Linked DNA regions of Homo sapiens: regions 2 and 3 are each linked to region 1. Evidence: promoter capture Hi-C in 16 types of primary human blood cells and fetal thymus (Javierre and others, 2016). All regions are on one chromosome and are shown on one strand. Each heading gives the region's core, a stretch centred on a gene start or on the middle of the fragment in contact. The rest is flanking DNA. Distances are from core to core; before and after follow the strand shown.

The links. The method cuts DNA at HindIII sites, captures the fragments that hold promoters and counts their contacts. A CHiCAGO score of 5 or more calls a contact.
Region 2: a fragment that was not itself captured here is called in contact with the fragment with the promoter of APOBEC2 in region 1 in 1 of 17 cell types (neutrophils); the score reaches 7.0 in neutrophils.
Region 3: a fragment that was not itself captured here is called in contact with the fragment with the promoter of APOBEC2 in region 1 in 1 of 17 cell types (neutrophils); the score reaches 10.0 in neutrophils.

Annotation. Positions count from the first base shown.
Region 1 is chr6:41,051,409-41,055,140 of GRCh38, reverse strand. APOBEC2 (apolipoprotein B mRNA editing enzyme catalytic subunit 2) reads right to left here and starts at 1,939. Exons shown (of 3, transcript NM_006789.4): 1 at 1,663-1,939. The coding sequence starts at 1,793. The HindIII fragment of the contact is 6,727 bases long and covers 1,353-3,732 here.
Region 2 is chr6:41,351,921-41,355,652 of GRCh38, reverse strand. No RefSeq gene overlaps it. Among named protein-coding and RNA genes, the nearest start is that of NCR2, 18 kb to the right of the region's middle. The HindIII fragment of the contact is 198 bases long and covers 2,023-2,220 here.
Region 3 is chr6:41,312,630-41,316,361 of GRCh38, reverse strand. No RefSeq gene overlaps it. Among named protein-coding and RNA genes, the nearest start is that of NCR2, 21 kb to the left of the region's middle. The HindIII fragment of the contact is 2,856 bases long and covers 503-3,358 here.

The sequences.
Region 1 (3,732 bases), core at 690-3,189:
ATACCATTCAATCTCTCTGAGTCTCAGTTTCCCCCTCTGTAAAGTGGCAATAATATATCTCCCTCTCCTACCTTTGTGCTGAGTGTTGAATGGTCTCATGTTCATGAAACTATGTTGTGATTATAAAGCCCTGGACAAATGTAAGTTATATCAGTGGACTTAACCCTTCAGGATCCATTGCTCTGGGACCCCCAAAGCATGTTCAGCTGAACAAACATAGTCTAATTCTGTTCTTGACCTACCCTCCCTCTGTGTTGGAAAGCCACACAAGAGTGTAGTGTGCACACGCGTGTGTGTATGACTAAGGATAGCGTATACCAGCATGCTTAGGTGTTAGAAAAAGGCTCTCCTTCCATAAGAAAGCCACTGGAATTGAGGACTCTCCTGGCCAGGCTGCCTTAGGCTTTCCCTGTGTCTATATTAATCTGTGCCCAGCTGCTCCCTTAATCCTAGGATGAGGGTGAGATTAGTTGGGTGGGCATGGGCAAATGGAAATTCAGGGGCTACTCTTGCCTCAGGAAATAGGATGCATTTTCCCTTAGGTTCTCTTGAAAATCAGAAAACATCTGAGCTGGAAGGGACCTTACTACTATAGATCTTCATGTTATAAGTGCTAAAACTGTGGCTGACTGGAAAATCACTTGTCAAGCTTGAAATATCAAGTCCAAATTGCCACTCAGGGCTTCCTTTCCCCCTTGAAAGCATCATGCCTCCTTTCTTCCTGAAACTTCTCTTAGTCTCGCACCCACTCTGCCTGTGGTCATTCCTGGAGACCCCATGAAGGGAACGTTTGGTTCAAGGAGGAAATATGGCCTCATAGATTCTCTTTTTATTCTTTGCTCAGGATTTAGAAGGGTCTTCCACTACAGGAATAGAAAGGGAAGAGGAAGAAGACTACTTAGTTTTATTCCTGGAGATGGCATAATCTGGATAAGACAGAGGTACCCTGCACACAGCCCCCTCCTTGCAGTCTGTAGACCCTTTTCTTTGGGTCCCAGTTCCTCCAGGCAATGCCTGAGCATGTTGGAACAGCTCCTGTGTCCATAAGCTCCTGGGCTGCGTTATCTGCATGTAATTTCTCTGTTTCTCTGTGGGACAGCCCCTGAGGAGACTCAAAAGATTTAATAAGAAAAAAGCTGCTTCTGAGTCTTGGGAAAGGATGGATCTATCTTTCCTGTCTTGGGAGCATCTACTCCAGGAAGAAGCTCTAAAGAAAGGGCTAGAGGCCTATGGCTAGCGGAGAGACCCACTCAGGAACAGAGAAGTTGAGGGGAAGGGTTGCTTTGAACGGAGCCACATATAGATGTGCCAGTCTCATCCTCTGTCCTCGCCAAACTCCCTGGGACTAAGCTTCTACCCAGAGAGGCAGGTGGCCATCCCAATACCAGGAGGCCTGAAGGGTGGTTTTATTCTCTGGGCTTTTGCCTCCAAGGAGCTCCTCCTACCTCTCCCTGATTAGAGAGCCCAAGGTGTCACCCTGAGAAGCCAAGAGAATTTGCTGCTGGGTCCCCTACCACCCCTGCCGGGCCCACTGGTGCACTCTCACTGCTGCAGGGTTGTAGCTGTCCCTGACGCCTAATATAACCATCCTGAATTTCCACAGCCTAACCCAAGGCTGCACTCTTCTAGGGAGCAGAACCCTGACCCACATCTGAGGCTTACCCTGTGACAATCTCAAAGGGCGGCAGCTCAATCAGCTCTTTCAGCTTCTCAGGGTCGTCCAGGTTCTCCAGATCCTCCCCATTCTGGGAGGCAGCCTCAGTGGCCACAGCAGCCTCTTCCTTCTGGGCCATGGAGGGGCTGTGGCTCAGGAGTCACTGAGGGAGAGGAGAGAGGCAGGCAGGTCTGGGCCAGGCCCTGGCGGCAGAGTCCCAAGCAGCTGTCAGCAGCTAAATCTGGCTGGGGATGACGGGAAAAGGACCCAGCAGGCCAGGCTTCGTGCTTTCCCCACTTAGCCACAGGCTTTATAGCCAAGGCCTCCTGCCCCTCCCCCAGGCTCTCTCCCTCTATCTTTTTTTAATTGAGTGACAGCGGGTGCTGGGGTGGGGGAATGGAAAATCTGGCCATTAGTATCCCCTATTTATCAGTAGGCAAAGACAGGAACCTGGCAGGTGGGTATGGCTTGGCCTGCTCTCTTCTCCCTCTCCCTCTCAGCTCACCTTATGTTCTCCCCTTTGTTTCCCACCCAAATTCCCTAGCTCCACTGGGGGAGAGTGTGGAAGGGGCCCCAGGGCAGGCATCCTGAGATTTAGGAGGGTGGCCTTCTGAGATTTAAACAGGAGGAGATGTGTGTTGAAAGGGGCTGACTGCAAAAAGACCCAGGCCATTTGCTTTGGGGGAACGTGGGTTCAGGAAAGGAGGGGTCCTGGCAGAGGTGGGATCAAAACTGACAATTTGGGGAGTAAGTGTGTGAGTTATGACTCAAAAGCGGTGGGTGCTGATTTGCCTGTTACAAAGCCATAATGTAATGTCAAATCGATCAGGAGCCTCCCTGAGTAACAATAGCTGCCATTTACTTAGCTCAGAGATTTTGAAACAGGCCAGGCAGTGGGTTTAGGGGTTTAAATGAAATCAGATGCATGCTTGCCACAGCCATGGGAGGCGATGTGTATTATCCCAAGTTACAGGTAAACTGAGTCACAGAAGTGTGCAGAGCCGGGATTAAAATGCAGGCTTTTGTACTTCAGGCCAAATATTCAACCTCCATGCTATGTGCCCTCACAGTCAGTCTTTTATTCTTCTTAACAAATATTTATTGAGTATCTACTCTATGCCAGGTGCTGTTTCAGGTACTGGGAATATGGCAAAAGAACAAAGCAAATGAAAATCCCTGCTGTGATGATTTGTGGAGCTTGAGGAACTGAACAACAAATAAGGTAAGTAAAATACATGGTCTATTTTGTGATGACAAGTGCCAAGGAGAAAAGACAGGAAATGGAAACAGGAAGTGCTAAGAGGTGGGGTTACGTACTTATAGGATGGCCAGGGTGAAGGACTTTGAAAAGGAGACAATTGAAGAAGACGTGAAGAAGGCAAGGGAACTAATCATTTGGTTGTCTAAGAGGAAAGCGTTCCAAGGAAGGGAACAACGTGAGCAAAGGCTCTGAGAAGGGAGCATTCCTGGGGTGTTTGAGGAACTAGCGAGGACATACATCTGGGTGACTGAAGAGTTCTAAGAGATTAAGCCAGAGAGATAACAAGGGTAAAAGGGACTGGGGCCTTATGGGCTGTCATAAGTACCTTGCTTTTTCTCAGACTGAGGTGGGAAGCCATTGTCTCTGAACAGGTGAGACAGGTGGTCTGAGCACTTGGGAAGAGCAGAGGCAGGGGACCAGTGAGAAGCCTACTGAGGCCAGAGAGAGATGATGGGGGCCCATAGAAAAGACCCTGAGCCGGAACAGCAGCAGAGGATGGCTAGATGATTTTTGCAGCTCTCATGATGGGTACTTAGCAGAGGCAAAAGTCTTCGTGTTTGGAGCAGTGCAAACACTCTAGGCCATTCTCAGGGAAGCAGAAGGAAGGGGTCAGGGTCACTTGTAGGTTGAAAATGAGGAACCTAAGAACACTGGGGAACGGATCTGAAAACAGCTCCAAATGGGTTTGGCTGGTGGGGATGAGAGGGTAGGGCACCCTTTGGAGGGTCTGACTAAAGAAGAGGAGTCAAGATGGTTTGGAAGATTTAGGGCTCACTCCTCCAGAGAGTCTGAGCAGCAGAGTGCTCTGTTAGTGTGA
Region 2 (3,732 bases), core at 872-3,371, 300 kb before region 1:
ATTCAAACAATATGGTAGAATACAGGGTAAAATGCGAAAGCCCCCCTTCACACTCCCTGTTCCATCCCAGTCACCTGCCCCTACCCAGACATTACCCATGGTAGCATCTTGAGGCAATTCTTGCACACATTCTTTCCTGTTATTACACACACACATTCACACACATGCATGCATACACACACATGCATACATGCACACATACATTGTGTCTAGGTATATTAGTCCATTCTTGCGTTGCTATAAATACCAGAGACTGGGTAATTTAAAAAGAGGTTTAATTGGCTCATGATTCTGCAGGCTGTACAGGAAGCATAGCAGCTTCTACTTCTGGGGAGGCCTCAGGAAATTTCCAATCAGGGCAGAAGACAAAGGGGGACTGAATTCTTTTCTTTTTAATTATACTTTAAGTTCTAGGGTACATGTGCACAATGTGCAGGTTTGTTACACATGTACACATGTGTCATGTTGGTGTGCTGCACCCATTAACTCATCATTTACATTAGGTATATCTCCTAATGCTATCCCTCCCCCGTCCCCTGACCCCATGACAGGCCCCGGTGTGTGATGTTCCCCACCCTGTGTCCAGGTGTTCTTATTGTTCAATTCCCACCTATGAGTGAGAACAAATGGTTTTAAACAACCAGATCTCATGAGAACTCACTCACTATCTCGAGGACAGTACCAAGAGGACGGTGCTAAACTGTTCACGAGAAATTCACCCCCATGATCCACTCACGTACCACCAAGCCCCACCGCCAACACTGGGGACTACAATTAGACATGAGATTTGGTGAGGACACAGATCCAAACCGTATCACTGGGGATATAGCTTTATCTTCAATTTTGCTGATATAAATGAGGTACTGTGATGTGTGTCACTCAGCAGCTTGATTTTTTTGAGCTAAATTGTTTAGTCAATCTGCTCTGTGCATTTAGAACACACATATCTGCCTCCTTTCTAACCTGCTGTTTAGTGCCCTAGGCTAGAGATGTAGCCTCATTTATTTCCTTCCTTTCCTATTTGTAGCCATTTGATTTGTTTCTAAGTTTCACTATTATATAAAATGTTGCAGCAAATAACCTTTTACATATGCCTCTTTGTGCACACATGATTTATTCTCTCATGCAGACACTAAAAATGGAATTGTCTGTGGAAAGTGGATATACATCTAATATTTTGATAAATCTGGACTAATTGATTTCCTAAAAGGATAGACTAATTTATATTCCCACCGACATCCTTTGAGATGCCAATTTTCTCACAACATCGTCACTGCTGGGAATAACCAATCTTTTAAATTTGTATTAATTTAATAGGTGAAAAATGATCCCTCCATTGTTGTTTTAATTTGCATTTTCCCACTTACTGATAAAATTGATCTTGCCTTCCATGTATTAATTTTCCATGGGGCGTTTCTTTGGATTGCAATTCTATCCTTTTCTGTTTCTTCTATTGAGTTGTTGCCCTTTGCTTATTGATTTCACAAGTTCCTTTTATAGTTTGGATATTAATCTTTGTATAACATATATATTATTTTTAAAATCTCGCTTTACTTTTTTGTCTTTTTTTTTGAGATGGAGTCCCACTCTATCACCAGGCTGGAGAGCAGTGGCATGATCTCAGCTCATTGCAACCTCCGCCTCCCAGGTTCAAGCAAGTCTCTTGCCTCAGCCTCCCAAGTAGCTGGGATTACAGGCATGCACCACCACGCCCAGCTAATTTTTGTATTTTTAGTAGAGACAGGGTTTCACTATGTTGGCCAGGCTGGTCTTGAACTCCTGACCTCATGATCCGCCCCTCTTGGCCTCCCAAAGTGCTGGGATTACAGGCGTGAGCCACTGCGCCTGGCCTCCGTTTACATTTTAAAAAACATTGTTTGTAGTATCTTTCGTCATACACAGGATTGTGTTTTAGGCAGAAAAATCAGTCAGTCCTCCTTCCTGGCTCTGTATGGGGGAGCTGTTTATATGGAGGGCCCGTCCTTCTCTAGGGGGCAGGTGATGGCATTTCTCCCAGAAGCTTGGGGAGGCCATTTCCTCAGGGGAGGAGCTCACCTGGGGACACTTGGTGACAACTTTGGAAATACTGACAGCTGCAGGGAACACTGTTTCCCACCACTGTGCCTGAGCTCCTTTCTTGCAGCCCAGTTTGGGGAGGGCAGCAAAGCCAGACGAAAGGGTGTTGTCCCAGGTCAAATATGGGAAGGACATAGTTAAGCTTTGTGCCTGGTCAGGTAACTGGCAGGTCACGGTGATTGGCTGAGATGCTCTCCCTTCCCCACAGAGGCCCTTCCTGTTCCCTTCCCTCAGTTCCTCAGGCTCAGATTTTTCTCCTCAGGAGCATCAGATCTGGGAGCCCTGGAGGGCTGGGGAAGGGGAAGCGGCCACATGTATACCCACCCCTGGGATCAGCCTCCTGCTGGTCCTCTGGCTGCAAGGTCACTTCTTCCTGCCCCACTTCCCTCTCCAGCCTTCTTTCTTGTCCTCCTCCCCAGTCCCCCATCTGAAGCTGAGGGCACCTGCAAACTAGGTGCAGGTGCCATTAGCAGCAAGAGGCAGAGGAGAGGGTCCTCCCAACCAAGCCGCTTCTCCTTGAGCTCTTGGGGTGGTGACCGAGGAATCCTCAGAGAGGGTGCTGGGAGGGAATAGGATTTGTTCAGGAGGAGGGGAGTCAGGAGGAGGAGAGAGGAAAGCCTCAGCCCTGGAAGCATGGCTGGACCACTTGCTCCTGCTCTCTTACCTACTAATGCTTGAGAAAGGTTGGTTGGGGAAAAAATAGTAGATACAAGAATCTAACATATTTCCCTTTATTGAATGTCGGGATTCTTAGAATTGGAAAAATGATGTTTACATATAATGTACAAAGAAAAGAGAAAAACACCAGGAAAGCTGGTGTGGTGTGTGCAACTCTAGGTGCAGCTGTTGTGGAGATCTGCTGACCAATGTCAAGTTCAGGGCTGCACCAAGATTTGAGCACCTCGCTGAGACTGTGGACTCTGCTTCGATGGTGGCTGTGTTGGCTGTTATCCCATAACCACAGGAAGTCCCTGGGTGTTTGGGCCAGCAGGGTTGGAATTCTACCAGGTATTGGCTAGGGTGCATTTTTGTAATCAGTAGGCCCGGGGCTGGGGGTGGGGGTGTGTGTGCCTTTTTGTGATCTCTCTGCAAGATGGGTCATTTGTCTAATTTCCATGGAGGAACAGGATGGGCCTATAGCAGGCCCTGTCATCATCAGAGCTCAGGGGCCAGGTGCTCCACTCCACTTCTGTATTTTTAACTCACGGTATTTTTTTTTATGTGGAAGTATTTTTAAATAAATTGCAGATATCCTGACATTCCACCCTTAAATAATTTATCATACATTTCTAAAACAAGAGCTCTTGCTGCTTAGCAAATTAATATGATCACAGCCAATGCAATTAAAAATAGTTTCTTAATAGACTCTACTACTCAGTGCATATTCACATTTAGACCCAACAAGTTCAGCACTTCAACCATAAGCAGAAACTCTGGTCTGTCTGAAACCTTGGCTGTCGCCAGACTTTCTTTTTTCTTTTTTTGAGACAGAGTTTCTCTCTTGTTTCCCAGGCTGGAGTGCAATGGCGCGATCTCGGCTCACTGCAACCTCCACCTCCCAGGTTCAAGCAATTCTGCTGCCTCAGCCTCCCTAGTAGCTGGGATTACAGGCATGTGCCACCACGCCCGGCTAATTTTGCATTTTTAGTAGAGACA
Region 3 (3,732 bases), core at 681-3,180, 260 kb before region 1:
TTGCCATCCTCATTCCATCATCTAAAAATGCTTCAAACTCAAATTTAGAAATCTTGACAGGCTGCTCTCTGGACTTAAAGACTAAGATCATAATTTGTTCCTAATGTTAACCTTTTTTTTTTCTTTTGTTTTTATAGAATGCTACCTTGAATTCCCTTCAAGCAATACTATCTGAAATAAACAATTTAACCTCAATAGTACTCCAAAATAGAAGTCCTTGATACCTTAGCAACTTAACAAGGAGGCTCTTATTTGTAAAAAAAAATATTGTTTCTATATTAATAAATTAGAAATTGTTGAGCCCAATTTAAAGGATCTTAAGGAACAAATATGTCTTTTATCAGACAGGTGTTGCCTCCTCCACTGATTTATTTTATTGGTGAAATATTGGCTCCTGGGAATCTGTGCTCCAGGGAATTTAAAAATCCTTGGCTATTATTCTCTCTGTAGTCATTTTGTTTACCATCCTACTATATCTTATCCTCTCAAGGATTTCAAAGCTTTCCAGAAGGCACTCACACATCAAATGATTGCCATCATCATTAATTGACTTGAAGAACTCAACAACCCTACCACTGAAGCCCATGATGCAGGTAATGATGCCATGTAATCTTATATCCCAATACAACTGTTGAGGATAAGATTACATGACTCTTTGTTCCAGTGACTATTTCACTAGTGGTAACTGAGAGGAATGCTACCACCTTCTTCTTAGCTTGCTGAGAGGGTGACCCAACGCGGTGGGATTGTTAAAGTAAATTAAAATGGAGACCAGACCTGAAGAATCCCAGAGGGGACAAAAGAAGTTATGATTTGTAAGTGACCTAAACCTTGCTTGATTTGCAAACATAACCAAACTTAACTTGAGCTATTTCTTGTGAATGCCTATATATATCTATATCTATATATATATTTTTAAAAGCAGAACTTAAGCTCAACCAATCAGAAGTTACTATTTATACAAACTTAGATAACGAGGGGCTTTCCAAGTTGAGAGACCAAAAAAAGCAATTGTATAACAGTAACCAATTAAATACTTTGCTTTACTTCTGTGTCTGTCTTATAAAAGTCTCCTCTTTGTGTTCCTCAGTGGAGCTCCCAAACTATTTCTGGTTCGGAGCTGCTCAGTTCATAAATTGTTCATGCTAAAAAAAACTCACCAAAACTCTTTAAAATTTTACTGTGCCTCAGTTTATCTTTTTAACAGTTCAAAAAAGATTAAAATAAATGATAATTATATTCTGTCCTGGAGAAGTAGGGAAAAAGTCATTCTTATGCATTGTTGGAAGGGAATAATTGATAGCCTTTTCTTGGAGAGCAGTGGTGTAATGAATTAAAAGTCAGAACAAGAAAAAACAAACAAACAAAAGCACATGTTTTGGAACCAGCATTTCTAAGTTTTGTTTTTTTTTTTCTCAGCAAGTATTTTGTTGAGCATCTTCCTAAAAAGTCATGCCTGCAGCCTTTTTTTGCCCTGTATGGATGCACTGCCTCCACCAGTTGGTACACAGCTGTCTCTTCCTCATGTTTCTGGGGCTTCTCTTTGTCTCCTCTACAACGTTTTCTTGATTCTTGGATCTTTGTTTACTCCTTTGTACTGGTGGAACCCATCCTTGAGTAACTACGGGAGAAAGGGGGAATGGAAAATACATTTTGACAACTTTTATATTTAAAAATGCCTGTTTTACCATGACAGTTTGACTGATATAAAAAATTCTGAGTTGGAAACAATTTGTCCTCAGGATTTTGAAGGCATTGCTATGTTACCTTCTTGCTCCTATTGTTGTTGAAAAGTCAGGAGCAATTATGATAACTATGGCAATATGTGATCTGTTGTCTTCACTTTATCAGCGTTTTCTTTTTGTTCTCGGTGTCCTGGAATGTCACAGGGATGAGCCTTGGAGTGTGTCTATTTCCATCCCTTTGCTCCGCACAGTGAGTGGCCTTTTCGATCTAGAAATTCACAGGAAAATTTCTTGAATTAGTTCATGCATGATTTTCCCCTCTCTGTTTTCTATGTTCTGTCTTTCTAGAACTCCTTTTATTCAAGCATTCACCTCCTGGATCAGTTGTCTTTTTCTTTTTTTTTCTCTCCCATTTCTCTGTTGTTCTCATTCTCTCTCTGCCTCCCTCTGTTTTGGAAACAGCCCTTGGAGAAAAAGTTTTCTGTTTTTATTTATGGTTCCTTAGGTGGTCTCTGTTTCTTCCCAGTTGCCTTCACTATTCTCTGTTTAGTTTCTTTCTTCTCTTTCACTTGAGAGCTTTTTCTCAGGCCTGGGTAACAAAATTCTAAAGATAATTGGATGCTGTGAGCCCACAGTGGGGCTGGTGCCCTGGGAGTTTCACAGGAGGGTGACTCCTTGGCCATTTGCTTGAGGAAGTGCCTTGTCAATATCATTCAGCCTTCTCTCTTGGGCTGCTCAGGATCCCCAGGGAAGACTCACCCCATCTCTTGTCTGGAGGAAGAAGATCTGGCTGCCAACTTTCTGGAATCCAAATAGGAGAAGAGGGCTGGAGTGTTTCTCAGCTTCTGGTACATGTTCTTCACATAATCCCATGGTTTTCAGGACATTGTCACCATCCTCACCTATACCTATTGCCCACCCCTTCCCTACCACACACAGAAACCCAGCCTTCTTTGCAACCTCTCTAAGGCATTCATTCCCAGTTGTCTGCCAAGGTGGGTCAAGGTCGCTCATCTACAGAAAGTGGCAAGGGGATCTGGGTTCCTCATTGCTTCTTAAACAACTTTCTACCATTTCTTCTTAATCGGACTCCCCTAAACCACCTCCACTTTCTCAGCCATCTTGGCAATACTGTTGTGTAAATAAGACTTGACTTCTGCCTTCCTCAACTCTGATGAAAGGTTCTGTTTTCTCACTTCTAAGTCATTTCCCACTTACTTATATATTTTTTTCAGCTCCCCAAATTTTCTTGCTATTTTACCTTCTAGTTTCCCTCGTTCCTATGTTTCCTGCATTTCTTTATGTTCATTTTTGTGGGTTTTAGGAGCGAACAGAAATAAAGGTGTATGTTCCATCTGCCATCTTTCCCTGAGAATCTGAACGATGATCTTAGATTACAGAATCTATGATCATAAATAAAAATGGGCTGATAACCCATTATTCTTATTTGGTCCTTGTGTGGTTTTGGTATTAATATTGTTCTAGCCACAGAAATTATATGAGCAGCTTCTCCCCTCTTTTCTATTTCCTGGAATAAATTGTATGAATTAAGAAATATCTATACCTTGAAAATTCTTCTGTGCCTGAAGTTGCCCTCCCCTCACCTCTCTAGCAGCTGAGATGGTTATATGACTGGATGTTGATTTTTGAATTGTTGTTGCTCTAGTCAAGCTTTTAATCTCAACACCAATTTTAATATTTTATATCTTCCAGAAATGTATCCATTTTATTTAAGTTATTCAATTTATTAGTGTATGATTATTCATAGTATTGTTATTGTGAAAGTCTCTTTTGGGTGTTCAGGTATTTCTCATTTGTTCTCTTTTCTTTTCTTTTTTTCTTTTGAGACAGAGTCTCACTCTGTTGCCTAGGCTGGAGTGCAGTGGCGCAATCTTGGCTCACTGTAACCTCCCCTGTCTCTTGGGTTCAAGCAATTCTCCCACCTCAGCCTCCTGAGTAGCTGGGATTGCAGGCGTGCATCACCAGGCCTGGCTGATTTTTTGTGTTTTTAGTAGCGACAGGGTTTCACCATGTTGGCCAGGCTGGT